Regions from separate parts of the Homo sapiens genome. Here regions 2 and 3 are each linked to region 1. Evidence: promoter capture Hi-C in 16 types of primary human blood cells and fetal thymus (Javierre and others, 2016). All regions are on one chromosome and are shown on one strand. The core of a region is centred on a gene start or on the middle of the fragment in contact, and the rest is flanking DNA. Distances in the headings are between cores, read along the strand shown. Region 1 holds the start of DGUOK (deoxyguanosine kinase). Region 2 holds the start of MOB1A (MOB kinase activator 1A). Region 3 overlaps MOB1A (MOB kinase activator 1A).

Region 1 (4,014 bases), core at 605-3,104:
ACCTTCCAATGGCTACCCATCTCGGTAAGATTAAAAACCCATGATAAGGCCTATAAAATCTGGCCACCCCTTGGGCTTTTGCCCTAATTTCCCTCCCATCCTTGCTCACTCGACTTCAGTCACAACGATTTCCCTCCTATTCCCCGAACACACTTTCCACCTCAGGGCCTTTCCAATTGCTCTTCACTCTGCCTAGAAGATTCTTCTCCCAGGTATCCACGTGATTTGCTCCCTCATCTTCAGTTTTTTGCTCAGATGTCACCTTCTCAGTGAGGCCTTGCTTATTTTATTTAAAATGACAACTTCGGCCAGGTGCAGTGGCTAACGCCTATAATCCCAGCACTTTGGGAGGCCGAGGCAGGCGGATCACCTGAGGTTAGGAGTTTGAGACCAGCCTGGCCAACATGGTGAAACCCTGTCTCTACTAACAAAACAAAAATTAACTGGGTGTGGTGGCGGGTGCCCCTAATCCCAGCTATTCGGGAGGCTGAGGCAGGAGAATCGCTTGAACCAGGGAGGCAGAGGTTGCAGTGAGTCGAGATCGTGTCATTGCACTCCAGCCTGGGTAACAAGAGCAAAACTCCATCTCAAATAAAATAAAATAAAAACTTCCCTCAATTCTTCATCCCTAATTTTTCTCCATCATACTTATTACTCTCTAACATATTGTTCACCTTGCTTAATTTATGTTGTTTATTGTCCATCTCTCCCTACTTGAGTTCCATGAGAGCAGAGATTTTTATTTGTTCTATTCACAGCTGTATTCTCCAGGCCAAGAACAGTGCTGGCATATGGAAGTGGCTCAAAAGGTGATTTGTTGAATGAATAAAAAAAGAAATTCTCAGTTTGCTGCTACGTCTTCAGTACTCAACACTTGCTAAGCCCCTTTTAGGGGCTCAGTGACTTGGTAGATAAAAGTATCAAGTCAGAATTTATTAATATTAAATCGAAATGCTTTGCCTTCATTTTGCTTTCTGACTACTTTTTATTCAAGATACTGGATCTCACTCTTTTAACAAAATAATTTTTAATTTAATACATGTTTTTAAGTTTAAAAAGTGAGGTTCTTCTAAGAAAAGCCTTAAGAAATTATTATGCAACTAGCACAGGCACAGGGCAAAAATTGTGAATGTGGTATTTGAACGACTGAAATTTAGGAACTCTCTTCGAATAGGGTTGCCAGATAAAATACAGGACACAGTTAAATTTGAACTTTCAATGAGTGATTTCGTTGTTGTTTTGCTGTAAGGATGTCCCAAATATTGCATTGGACACACACTAAAAATTATTCGTTATCTTAAATTCTATTTTAACTGGATATTATTTTTAATTTCTGCTAAATATGGCAACCCTATCTAGGAGAACAAATAAACTGCACCCGCTTGTCGCTTCAATTTCGATCTATTACAAACAGCTAATACAATTCTTGTCCTATCCACTAACTGCGTGGCTTTTATGCCCCAACAAATATGTTCCTGTGGGCGGGTACTGAGGCCCGATATCCTAAAAACAAGGAGGCAAAGATACACAGTGCACTTTGCGAGGGGAAAGGCTCTCCTCGCAGCCCAGAAAAAGAGGCCGGCCGCATCAGACGCAGGCCATTCCGGGCCCAGCTCCTTTCCCAGCCTCTGTCGCCTGCGTGGCGGAGGCCAAGGCTTGGCAGCCGCTTTCCGGCCCTTACCAATGTTGCCTTCGATGGAGAGCCTTCGGGGCCCGCGCCCCGCGTGCAGGCCTCTGGAGGAGGAAACGCCCTCGAGTGGGCTCTTGGCCATGGAACTGAAGGGTGCTCGAAGCCGACTTAGAAAGAGGCGGCCCGCGGCCATCCCACCCACGATTCACACAGCGATCACTTCCGCCGAGAGCACTTCCGCCCTAGGTATCGCTGCTCACTCGCTCCAGCGCACCGTTGACGTAAGGAGATCGTCAGACAGGAAGTGGGTGGGGTTGAACATGCGGCGGGGTGCGCCCAAGAGACCGCTCCGCTATCGCGATGTTTGTAAAGAAGCGTTGAGTGAAGGAAGTTTTGCAACGGTGCAGAATTTGATAGTAAAAGGAGTTGCGGTGCGAGTGGTTTTTGTTCATTGGACAAATAACATTTTAAAAGACGTAATTCCACAATCCAACCACTTCATTTTTGTATAACTTTAAAATAAATTTTATAACTGAAGACAAAATTAAAAATAGAAATTGTAATTTTAAGAGGGGATTTCCCCCCCCCCAGGTGCTTGTTGTCTGGTTTTTATTTTAATATCGGAAGAAAATGGAAGTTTTAAAGTAGGAAAATGACTCAATCTGATGATTTACACAAATTTAACTTTTTCCTATTCCCTGTAATTCCCCTGCACAATGCTGGCATATTATTGACTAAATTAACAAATTAGATAATCAGTTACACCCCATCTCTTAGTTTGTGTCTTGAATAAGTAAATAAATGTTCGGTCAATCGATTTGCATTATACCCAAAAATCCCTTCAGGATAAGGTGGTGGTGGCTCAGGTATGTGACTGGAAATTGTTTAAACCTGGTAGGCTGGGTTCTTGGACGTAAGCAATGGCGAGTAGAGACTTGTATAAAACCTGAGTCCTGCTGTCGGTGAAGTGTGCTCTGCAGGAGGGCAGGGACCTAAGCTGCTGCCACAGGTGAAGCCGGACTGCCACACCCCGTCGTCATAACAACCTCAGAAGTAATGATTTACAAAATGTTGTCAAATGGTGCTTCCAGTTCCAATCGCTTAAATCACCAACAGTCAAAACCAGGAGTCAACAGGCCAAACCGGCCTTCAGGCAGCGCTCTTAGGTGTGGCAGGTTTTAGAAGACAAGGATCTGATTGCAAGGGGGCTGGGGAGGGGCCGGGGGCTGGGATACCTGTCTTGAAGCTGTTCCCATAAAAAGCACGGGACCTTTTTCTTATGTTGATGTATATATAGGATGGCTGAGGTCATGTTTATATATTAAGAACTTTTTTTTTAATCGAATTTTTTAAGGATAACCAGGGTGGGGCGTTAATGGCTACTGGAGCGGCTAAAGTCCTACCCATTCCCATCTCCACTCCAGCAGCCACTTCTGTTAAAACAAAACAAAACAAAACAAAACAAAACAAAAAACAAAAAAAAAACTGCTTACATTTCTTTACCTATGTAAACTCAGACTTGGAAAATATTCATCCAAAAAAGCTTGAGAGGCTCTCTGCCTCGCCAGGATCTTGCTGCCTCAGGGGTGTTGTGAAAGTTAAATGAGGAAGTTGTCTGCAGGCAGGCATTAATCTCCTAAAAGCTACGAGGCAGGAAAATAGGGTCTGGAGACAGGGAACCTAAGGCCGATTTAGGCTGACTTCCTAGAACTAAATCAAAAGGAAAACCCCAACTTTCTAGCCCAAGTAACAAAAGGACCAGAAGCTAATCCCTCTTCTGGGTGGCAGATAAAAAATTGAAAGTACCTCTGACTGGTCCCCGCGGGCAATCAGTCAGGCTGGTGGCAGGCCAAGTCTTTAGTTGCATGGGGTATAACTTCATAACTTTACTTCAGCCTCTGATTGGTCCCCTCCTGCAACCAATCAGACTGATCGCTGGCCACTACTTCATTTACATAGGGTGTACACCAGGTAACCAATGGGAAACCTCTAGAAGGTATTTAAACCCCAGAAAATTCTGTAATTGCTGCTTGCTTGGGCCCTTCCTACCGCAAGGAGTGTTCTTTGATGTACAATAAATCTGTGCTTTTGTTGCTTCATTGTTTCCTTGCTTTGTACGTTTTGTCCAATTCTTTGTTCAAAATGTCAAGAACCTGGGCACCCTCCACCAGTAACAGAGCTCCTAAAAATTATTTTTAAAAATTTTATGGTGAAGTGGCCTGGCGCGGTGGCTCACGCCTGTAATCCCAGCACTTTGGGAGGCTGACGAGGGCGGATCACGAGGTCAGGAGATCAAGACCATCCTGGCTAACATGGTGAAACCCTGTCTCTACTAAAGAGAGAGAAAAAAAAAAAAGCGGAGTGTGGTGGTGGGCTCCTGTAGT
Region 2 (4,014 bases), core at 573-3,072, 250 kb before region 1:
GTAATCCCAGCTTTGGGAGGCCGAGGCGGGTGGACCACTTGAGGTCAGGAGTTCAAGACCGAGACCAGCCTGGCCAACATGGCGAAACCCCGTCTTTACTAAAAAAAAAAAAAAAAAAAAATACAAAAATTAGACGGGTGTGGTGGCGCACGACTGTGATCCCAGCTACTCGGGAGGCTGAGGCATGAGAATCACTTGAATCTGGAAGGCAGAGGTTGCAACGGGCCGAGATTGCACCACTGCATTCCAGCCTGGGTTACAAAGTGAGACTCTGTCAAAAAAAAAAAAAAAATTAGTGCTGATGGTTGGCACACTTTGAAAACATAAACAAAGCCGGAGGCAGTGGCTCACACCTGTGATCCCAGCATTTTGGGAGGTCAAACCAGGAGGATCCCTTGAGCTCAGGAGTCCAAGACCAGCTTGGGCAACACAGTGAGACGCTCGTCTCTGCAAAAACTTTGAGAAAATTAGCCGGGCGTGGTGGCAGGCACCTGTGGTCTCAGCTACTCGGGAGGCTGAGGCGAGAGGATCACTTAAGCCCAGGAAGTCCAGGCTGCAGTGAACTGTGAACTCCAGTCTGGGCGACAGAGCGAGACACCTCAGAAAAAAAAAAAAAAAAGAAAGAAAAAACCGAAAAAGACCACTAGAGGGTACATGTTTAAAGGACAGATTTTATGCTATGTGAATATATTTCAAGTAAAAATTAAATTAACAATTTTAAAAATTGCAGGAGTACGCAGCGCTTATAGAGGTCCCTGCATAACCTAGGGAGCGGGATCGAAACCCAGCAGCACCAAGATACTCTAAGAGCAGGACCAGCCACTGCCCCTTCCGCAGGACCGCCATCCTCGCCACGCCTCCGGGGGAGGGAGGTCCTGGCTTGGAGAGCGATGATTGGCCGAGTTCTAGGACGAGGCGGAGCGAAAGGGGGCGCGACAAGTCCCTCCCGGCGCAGCGAAACCTTAGCTCGCGAGATTTTGTTGGTTCCGCATTTCGGGTCTGCGAGGTGGGGTAGGCGGGCAAGGCGGGCGCCGAGGTTTGCAAAGGCTCGCAGCGGCCAGAAACCCGGCTCCGAGCGGCGGCGGCCCGGCTTCCGCTGCCCGTGAGCTAAGGACGGTCCGCTCCCTCTAGCCAGCTCCGAATCCTGATCCAGGCGGGGGCCAGGGGCCCCTCGCCTCCCCTCTGAGGACCGAAGATGAGCTTCCTCTTGTGAGTGGGGTCGGGCCGCGGGCGCCGGGCCTGCGGGCCGAGGTTGTGGGGGAGGCCTCCCCGGACCTGAGGCGAGGGCTCGGCCTGGGGGCCGAGGCGGGGGCGGGGTAGCTGGCGTTTGTTTTGCCTCTGTTCGGGTCCGCGGGGGAGGCCGAGATGTTGGGAGAGGCCGACAGAGATGAAGGTCGAAGTAAAGGAAACGGAGCGTGAAGGCTGGGGAGTAGAAAGGCCCCGGGGCCGTCGCGCCTCCAAACTTTTCCGCCCGAGCGCCCCCGAGGGCGGGGAGACGATCTGGGGGCGGAGCCGCGAGCCCCCAGTTTCTCTTGTCTCGAGCTTCTAGAAACCGTCCTTGCCGACTTAACTCGTTGCTCGGTTATAGGTCCAGTTTCATTATTGTCGGTGTTAAATGCCGCCCCAGGAGAATGTGCGTTGCCGCAGTTTGAGAAGCTTGAAGTTAAGATGCTGGCCTTGGAGTCGGATCGTTCTGTCCAGTTCTGATTCTGCCCACTTACTGGCTTTGATTTTAACCAACTTCTCTTGTCCTCGGTAGAATCCTGTGTTTTTAATCATTATGTAATATACCATACAGCATTATTATATAGTACATTGCAGTATTATAAATAATTTGGAAAGTTAAAACAAATTCATAGTCCCATTGCAGAAACACAGTATTGCCATTTTAGTGCACTACAGCAATTAACTTGATAGGCATACCTTAGAATCTCATTTTAGAGATAATGCCTGAGCCCAACCAAACAAGGCTAAAATGAAAAAGCTTGTAAATTCCCTGATGATTCTTATGCACATTAAGGTTTGAGAAGCATTGCTCTGGCACAGTATTTTTTATTCTCAGGTGTCTCTCTCTACCTTGTATATTGCTTAAATGTGTGTTTTGTGATTGAATAATTATCCAATTTTAGTTATGGATGTAATCCACATGCTTGACATTTTTATTAAATACAATATAAAAACACTATATAGTTTTTTTTTTATTTTTTATAACCAGAGTTTACCCACTTTATTGTGAGAAACTGGGATTCCTTCCAGTATTTACTATTATAAAATAGCACTACTCAGAATATGTTTATCTGCGTCTCATTTTCCTTCCTTTGGGTTATTCTCGTAAATGAATGGTCTCTAAAATACGATTACCTTGTCAAAAAGCCTGTATGATTTAGATTTAACTTCCATATTAATAGAAGTATTCCTCCCTCCTCCACTTTTTTCTTACGAGTTGATATTTAATTAGTGAATGCACAGTTGCTTTGTGGACCTTAATACGAGACTTTTTCTTTTTTTTTATTTTTTGAGACGGAGTTTCGCTCTGTCCTCCAGGCTAGAGTGCAATGGCACGGTCTCGGCTCACTGCAACCTCTGCCTCCGGGGATGGCACGGTCTCGGCTCACTGCAACCTCTGCCTCCCGGGTTCAAGCGACTCTCCTGCCTCACACTCCCGAGTAGCTGGGATTACAGGCGCCGGCCACCACACCTGGCTCATTTTTGTATTTTTAGTGGAGACTGGGTTTCATCATGTTGGCCAGGCTGGTCTCGAACTCCTGACCTCAGATGATCCACTCCCGCACTCGGCCGAGACTTTCTTTTTTTAAAACTTGGCCTTCTTGATGGACACTTGAGTTGTTCCCGCTTTTTGGCCATTATGAATAATGCTGCTGTGAACATATGTGACAGGTTTTTGCGTGGATGTATGTGTTCATATCTCTTGGGTATATACTTAGGAGCAGAATTGCTGGCTTAAGTGGTAACTATGTTTAACCTTTTGAGGAACTGCCAAACTTCAAAGTGCTGCACCATTTTACATTCCCATAAGTACTCTATGAGGGGTCCAATTTCCCCACACCTCTCATAGCACTTGTTAATTTTCTTTTTTTTTTTTTTTGAGACAGAGTCTTGCTCTGTCGCCCAGGCTGGAGTGCAGTGGCTCAATCTCGGCTCACTGTAAGCTCCGCCTCCCGGGTTCACGCCATTCTCCTGCCTCAGTCTCCCAAGTAGCTGGGACTACAGGCGCCTGCCACCATGCCTGGCTAATATTTTGTGTTTTTAGTAGAGACGGGGTTTCACCGTGTTAGCCAAGATGGTCTCAATATCCTGACCTAGTGATCCGCCCACCTCGGCCTCCCAAAGTGCAGGGATTACACGCGTGAGCCACTGCGCCCGGCCTTGCCTGTTTTTAAATTGGGCTGTCTTTTTGAGTTGTAGGACTTCTTTATACATTCTAGATACAAGTCTTTATCACATCTATGATTTGCAAATATTTTCTTCCTTGTTCAATATAGTTTTTTTTATCATGTTAAAAACTTTTCAGATATGATTTTTAGTGTTTTCATCATTCTTTTTTACCTCCTTTTTTTTTTTTTTTTTTTTTTTGAGACAGGGTCTCACTCTGTTGCCTAGGCTGGAGTGCAGTGGTGCGATCTCAGCTCACTGCAACCTCTGCATCCCGGGTTCAAGCAATTCTCCTGCCTCAGCCTCCCAAGTAGCTGGGATTACAGGCACTTGCCACCACGCCCGGCTAGTTTGTGTGTGTGTGTGTGTGTGTGTGTGTGTGTGTGTGTGTGTAGTAGAGGCGGGGTTTCACTATGTTGGTCAGGGTGGTCTCAAACTCCTGACCTCAAGTGATCCACCCGCCTTGCCCTCCCAGAGTGCTGGGATTACAGGTGTGAGCCACTGCACCCGGCTCTTTTTTACTTCTTAATCAGTCTTATTTAAATTCCAAATTACTCAGGTAAAGTAAAAGTCCATAGTTCTATTCCATTCCTCTTCCTAGAAGTAATCACCAGTTTTGAT
Region 3 (4,014 bases), core at 780-3,279, 230 kb before region 1:
CTTTAGCTTTATTTTCTCTTGTAAAATTCTGTAGTTTATGTCAGTTGTTCAAGTTTCTTAATTTTATTCTAGGGATTTTATGTCTTTTATTGATAATCTGGTTTCCAGCTGGTTATTTAGTATATAGGAAAGCTGTTGGTTTTTATTGTAATTTATTTTTAATTTTTTTTGAGACAGGGTCTCACTCTGTTCCCCAGCCTGGAGTGCAGGGGTGTGATCACAGCTCTCTGCAGCCTTGATCTCCTGGGCTCCAGTGATCCTCCCACCTTAGCTTCCCAAGTAACTGGGACTGTAGGCACGCACCACTACACCTGGCTAATTTTGTTTATTTTTTGTAGAGATGAGGTCTCATTATGTTGCCCAGGCTGGTCTCGAACTCCAGGGCTCAAGCATCCCTCCTTCCTTGGCCTTCCAAAAGTGTTGGAATTACAGGTGTCAGCCACCAGGACTGGCCAGCTGTTGATTTTTATTTAAATTTTATAATTAACCATCAGACTCTTTTTCTGTTAGTTTTTGGTTGGTTCTCTTGAATTTTTAAAGTATACAACTGTGTCATATTAAGATAGTGTTCATTTTGTCTCTTCCTTTCTGATAATGTATTCTTGTTTTTACGCTTGCTTATCTGATTGCACTGAGTGGTATTTCAAGCGCAATGCCGAGTAATGGTGATGATGGCAGACATCCGTTTCTTGCCTTCTTACTATTATGCAAGTACTTCTAGTATTTCTGCAGTAAGCCGAAATCTTGGCTTTTGGTTAGAGGTGTATGGATTTTTAAAAAATTATATTAATGAAAAATATCCACCATTTATATTACAAAAATTGTTCTTAACGAGGAATGGCTATAGAGTTTATCAGATGCTTTTCCAGTATCTGTTGCCTATGACCATAAGGTTTTCTCCATTTTTTAATAAAAATATTCTGCTGGAAGAGTATTTGTTAATATTTTGATTAAGAGTTTGGCATCAGTATTCATGGATGAAATCACTCCTTGTCATTTTCAACTTAAGAGTATTTTATGAGCAACATATTTTTGAATTCCTTTTTGCAGTCTTATAGAGGCTTTTCAGGACAACAGTTTTTTTCCAAGTTGTTAACATTTGGTCTGTTTGTTGTTGGTCAGTTTTTCCATTCTGCTATTAAACCTTTTATTTCCTTTCTCATATATCTTTATTTTATATTGACTGTGCTTGAATATATCTGTTAAATTCAGCTTGGAAAGTGTTTAGATTTAAACAAATTACTTATTTCTTTACTCATTAAAGTCTCTGCTTATGGAAGGTAAATAATTCTTTTGATTTATCCTCTTTTCTCTCTTTTTTGTTTGGAGACAGGGTCTCACTCTGTCACCCAGGCTGGAGGGCAGTGGCACAGTCTCGGCTCTACTGCAACCTCCACTTCCTGGGTTGAAGCGATTCTCGTGCCTCAGCCTCCAAGTAGCTGGGACTACAGGCGCCCACCACCACACCTGGCTAGTTTTTGTAGTTTTAGGTAGAGACAGGGTTTCACCATGTTGGCCAGGCTGGTCTCGAACTCCTGACCTCAAGTGATTCACCCACTTTGGCCTCCCAAAGTGCTGGAATTACAGGCATGAGCCACCATGCCTGGCTTTTTTCTCACTTTCTTGTTCTTAAATAATTCATTCTGATCCACCACCTCTTAATCCCACTCCCCTGCCATTAGGCTATTATCTGCATCTTACTTTTGCCAGTTATTTAGTCTCAGACAGAACTGTTTATCATTAATTTTTTACTAATATATGCACATTATTAATATCCTTTTATTAGAAAGATGCCCATTTATACATTCTGATAAAAAAAGATGTTTGATTTTGAAATCTACTTTTTTTTTTGAGACAGACTCTCACTCTGTTGCCCAGGCTAGAGTGCAGTGGTGCAGTTACAGCTCACTGTGGACTTGACCTCCCAGGCGCAAGTGGTCCTTCTACATCAGCCACTTGAGTAGCTGAGACCACAGGCACGTGTGCCACCACGCCCAGCTAATTTTCAATTTTTTGTAGACACGAGGTCTCACTGTGTTGCCCAGACTGGTCTCAAACTTCTAGGCCCAAGCAACCTTTCTGCTTCAGTCTCCCAAAGAGCTTGAGATTACAGGCATGAGCCACTGCACCTGGCCAGAATACTGCTTTTTTTTTTTTTTGAGGCGGAGTCTCACTCTGTTGCCCAGGCTGGAGTGCAGTGGCATGATCTCAGCACACTGCAAGCTCCGCCTCCCGGGTTCACGCCATTCTGCCATTCTCCTGTCTCAGCCTCCCGAGTAGCTGGGACTACAGGTGCCGCCACCACGCCTGGCTAATTTTTGTATTTTTAGTAGAGACAGGGTTTCACTGTGTTAGCCAGGATGGTCTCGATCTCCTGACCTCATGATCCGCCCGCCTCGGCCTCCCAAAGTGCTGGGATTACAGGCATGAGCCACTGCACCCGGCCAGAAATCTGCTTTTTCAATACATGAATACAAGATCCTGCCCAGGAAAACATGCCTGTAAGCTCCAGGATAATGTCTGAAAAGTCACGTTAATGAGGACTGGGGTGGTGGTGGAGAATAACCACAAACATCAGCAAAATAAGTTTCAGGTTATTGAGAACTGGCTGGGAAAAAAATGCAAGGAAAGAGTGTTTTAAGCCTTTGTTTTCTGAAAAATTGAAAAAAAGAATGTGTTTCAAGAGTAGCGTTGTGGAACAGGCCTTTAAGGCCAACTAATGTAGGTTTATTTTTATTTTTATTTTTTGAGATGGAGTCTCACTCTGCCGCCCAGACTGGAGTGCAGTGGCGGCAATCTTGGCTCACTGCAACCTCCGCCTCCTGGGTTCAAGCGATTCTTCTGCCTCAGCCATTTGAGTAGCTAGGATTACAGGCCTTAGTCACCACGTCTGGCTAATTTTTGTATTTTTAGTAGAGACAGGGTTTCACCATGTTGGTCAGGCTGGTCTCGAACTCCTGACCTGTCTGTCCCTGTTTTCTAATGGACTTTGATATTGTCAGCCAAAATTCTCAGGAATGTAACCAGTTGGATCCCCATCTCCACTGCTTGGAAGGATACCAAACTCTACCCCCGTTGTTTTCTAAAAAGAGATTTCTTTTTTTTTTTGAGACGGAGTCTCGCTCTGTCACCCAGGCTGGAGTGCAGTGGCGCGATCTCGGCTCACTGCAACCTCCACCTCCCGGGTTCAAGCAATTCTCTGCCTCAGCCTCCCGAGTAGCTGGGATTACAGTTGCCTGCCACCACCCCTGGCTAATTTTTGTATTTTTAGTAGAGATGGGGTTTCACCATGTTGGCCAAGCTGGTCTCTTTGGCCAGGCTGGTCTTGACCTCCTGACCTCGTGATCTGCCCCCCTCGGCCTCCCAAAGTGCTGGGATTACAGGCGTGAGCCACTGTGCCCGGCTGCCTTTTTATTTTGCTTAGGAGAGTTTCCAGTCCTCATTGAGAGAGTGCGTATGTATGTAATTTCTTCTTTTTTTTCCTAAGGGATGAGGTTTTACCTTGTTGCTCAGGCTTATCTTGAACTCAGGCTTATGAGCTCAGGCAATCTGTCCACTACGGCCTCTCAACGTGCTGGATTACAGGCACGAGCCACCACACGGAGCCAGTGTAATTTCTTTAGAGTTACAAATTACAAAGTAAAAATATTTATGATCAAAATACTTACTCTTGTTGCATTTAATTTCAGAAAGAAACTCTCTAATATTAAAGAACTAAATCCCAGTACTTTGGGAAGCCAAGGCAGGCAGATCACTTGAGGCCAGGAATTCGAGACCAGGCTGGCCAACATGGCAAAAACCCATCTGTACTAAAAATACAAAAATCAGCCAGGTGTAGTAGTGCACGCCTGTAGTCCCAGCTACTTTGGAGGCTGAGGTGGGCAGATTGCTTAAGCCTGGGAGGTGGAGGTAACAATGAACCATGATCATGCTACTGAACTCCAGCCTGGGTGACAGAGTGAGGCTCAGTCTCCGGGGTGGGGGGGGGGACAAAAAACAAAAAACTAAAACTAC

Evidence for each region. The method cuts DNA at HindIII sites, captures the fragments that hold promoters and counts their contacts. A CHiCAGO score of 5 or more calls a contact.
Region 2: a contact is called between a fragment that was not itself captured here and the fragment with the promoter of DGUOK in region 1, in 6 of 17 cell types (activated CD4 T cells, total CD4 T cells, naive CD8 T cells and 3 more). The highest score is 7.0, in activated CD4 T cells.
Region 3: a contact is called between a fragment that was not itself captured here and the fragment with the promoter of DGUOK in region 1, in 5 of 17 cell types (total CD4 T cells, non-activated CD4 T cells, total CD8 T cells and 2 more). The highest score is 6.3, in total CD4 T cells.

Annotation. Positions count from the first base shown.
Region 1 is chr2:73,924,720-73,928,733 of GRCh38, reverse strand. It overlaps DGUOK (deoxyguanosine kinase), which reads right to left and starts at 1,854. Exons shown (of 7, transcript NM_080916.3): 1 at 1,682-1,854. The coding sequence starts at 1,823. RefSeq lists an enhancer at 1,553-1,822. The HindIII fragment of the contact is 7,290 bases long and covers 1-3,175 here.
Region 2 is chr2:74,175,856-74,179,869 of GRCh38, reverse strand. It overlaps MOB1A (MOB kinase activator 1A), which reads left to right and starts at 991. Exons shown (of 6, transcript NM_018221.5): 1 at 991-1,209. The coding sequence starts at 1,196. RefSeq lists silencers at 1,230-1,419, 3,139-3,331 and an enhancer at 1,283-1,966. The HindIII fragment of the contact is 328 bases long and covers 1,659-1,986 here.
Region 3 is chr2:74,159,794-74,163,807 of GRCh38, reverse strand. The region is part of intron 4 of MOB1A (MOB kinase activator 1A); the gene reads left to right. Among named protein-coding and RNA genes, the nearest start is that of BOLA3-DT, 14 kb to the right of the region's middle. The HindIII fragment of the contact is 5,606 bases long and covers 1-4,014 here.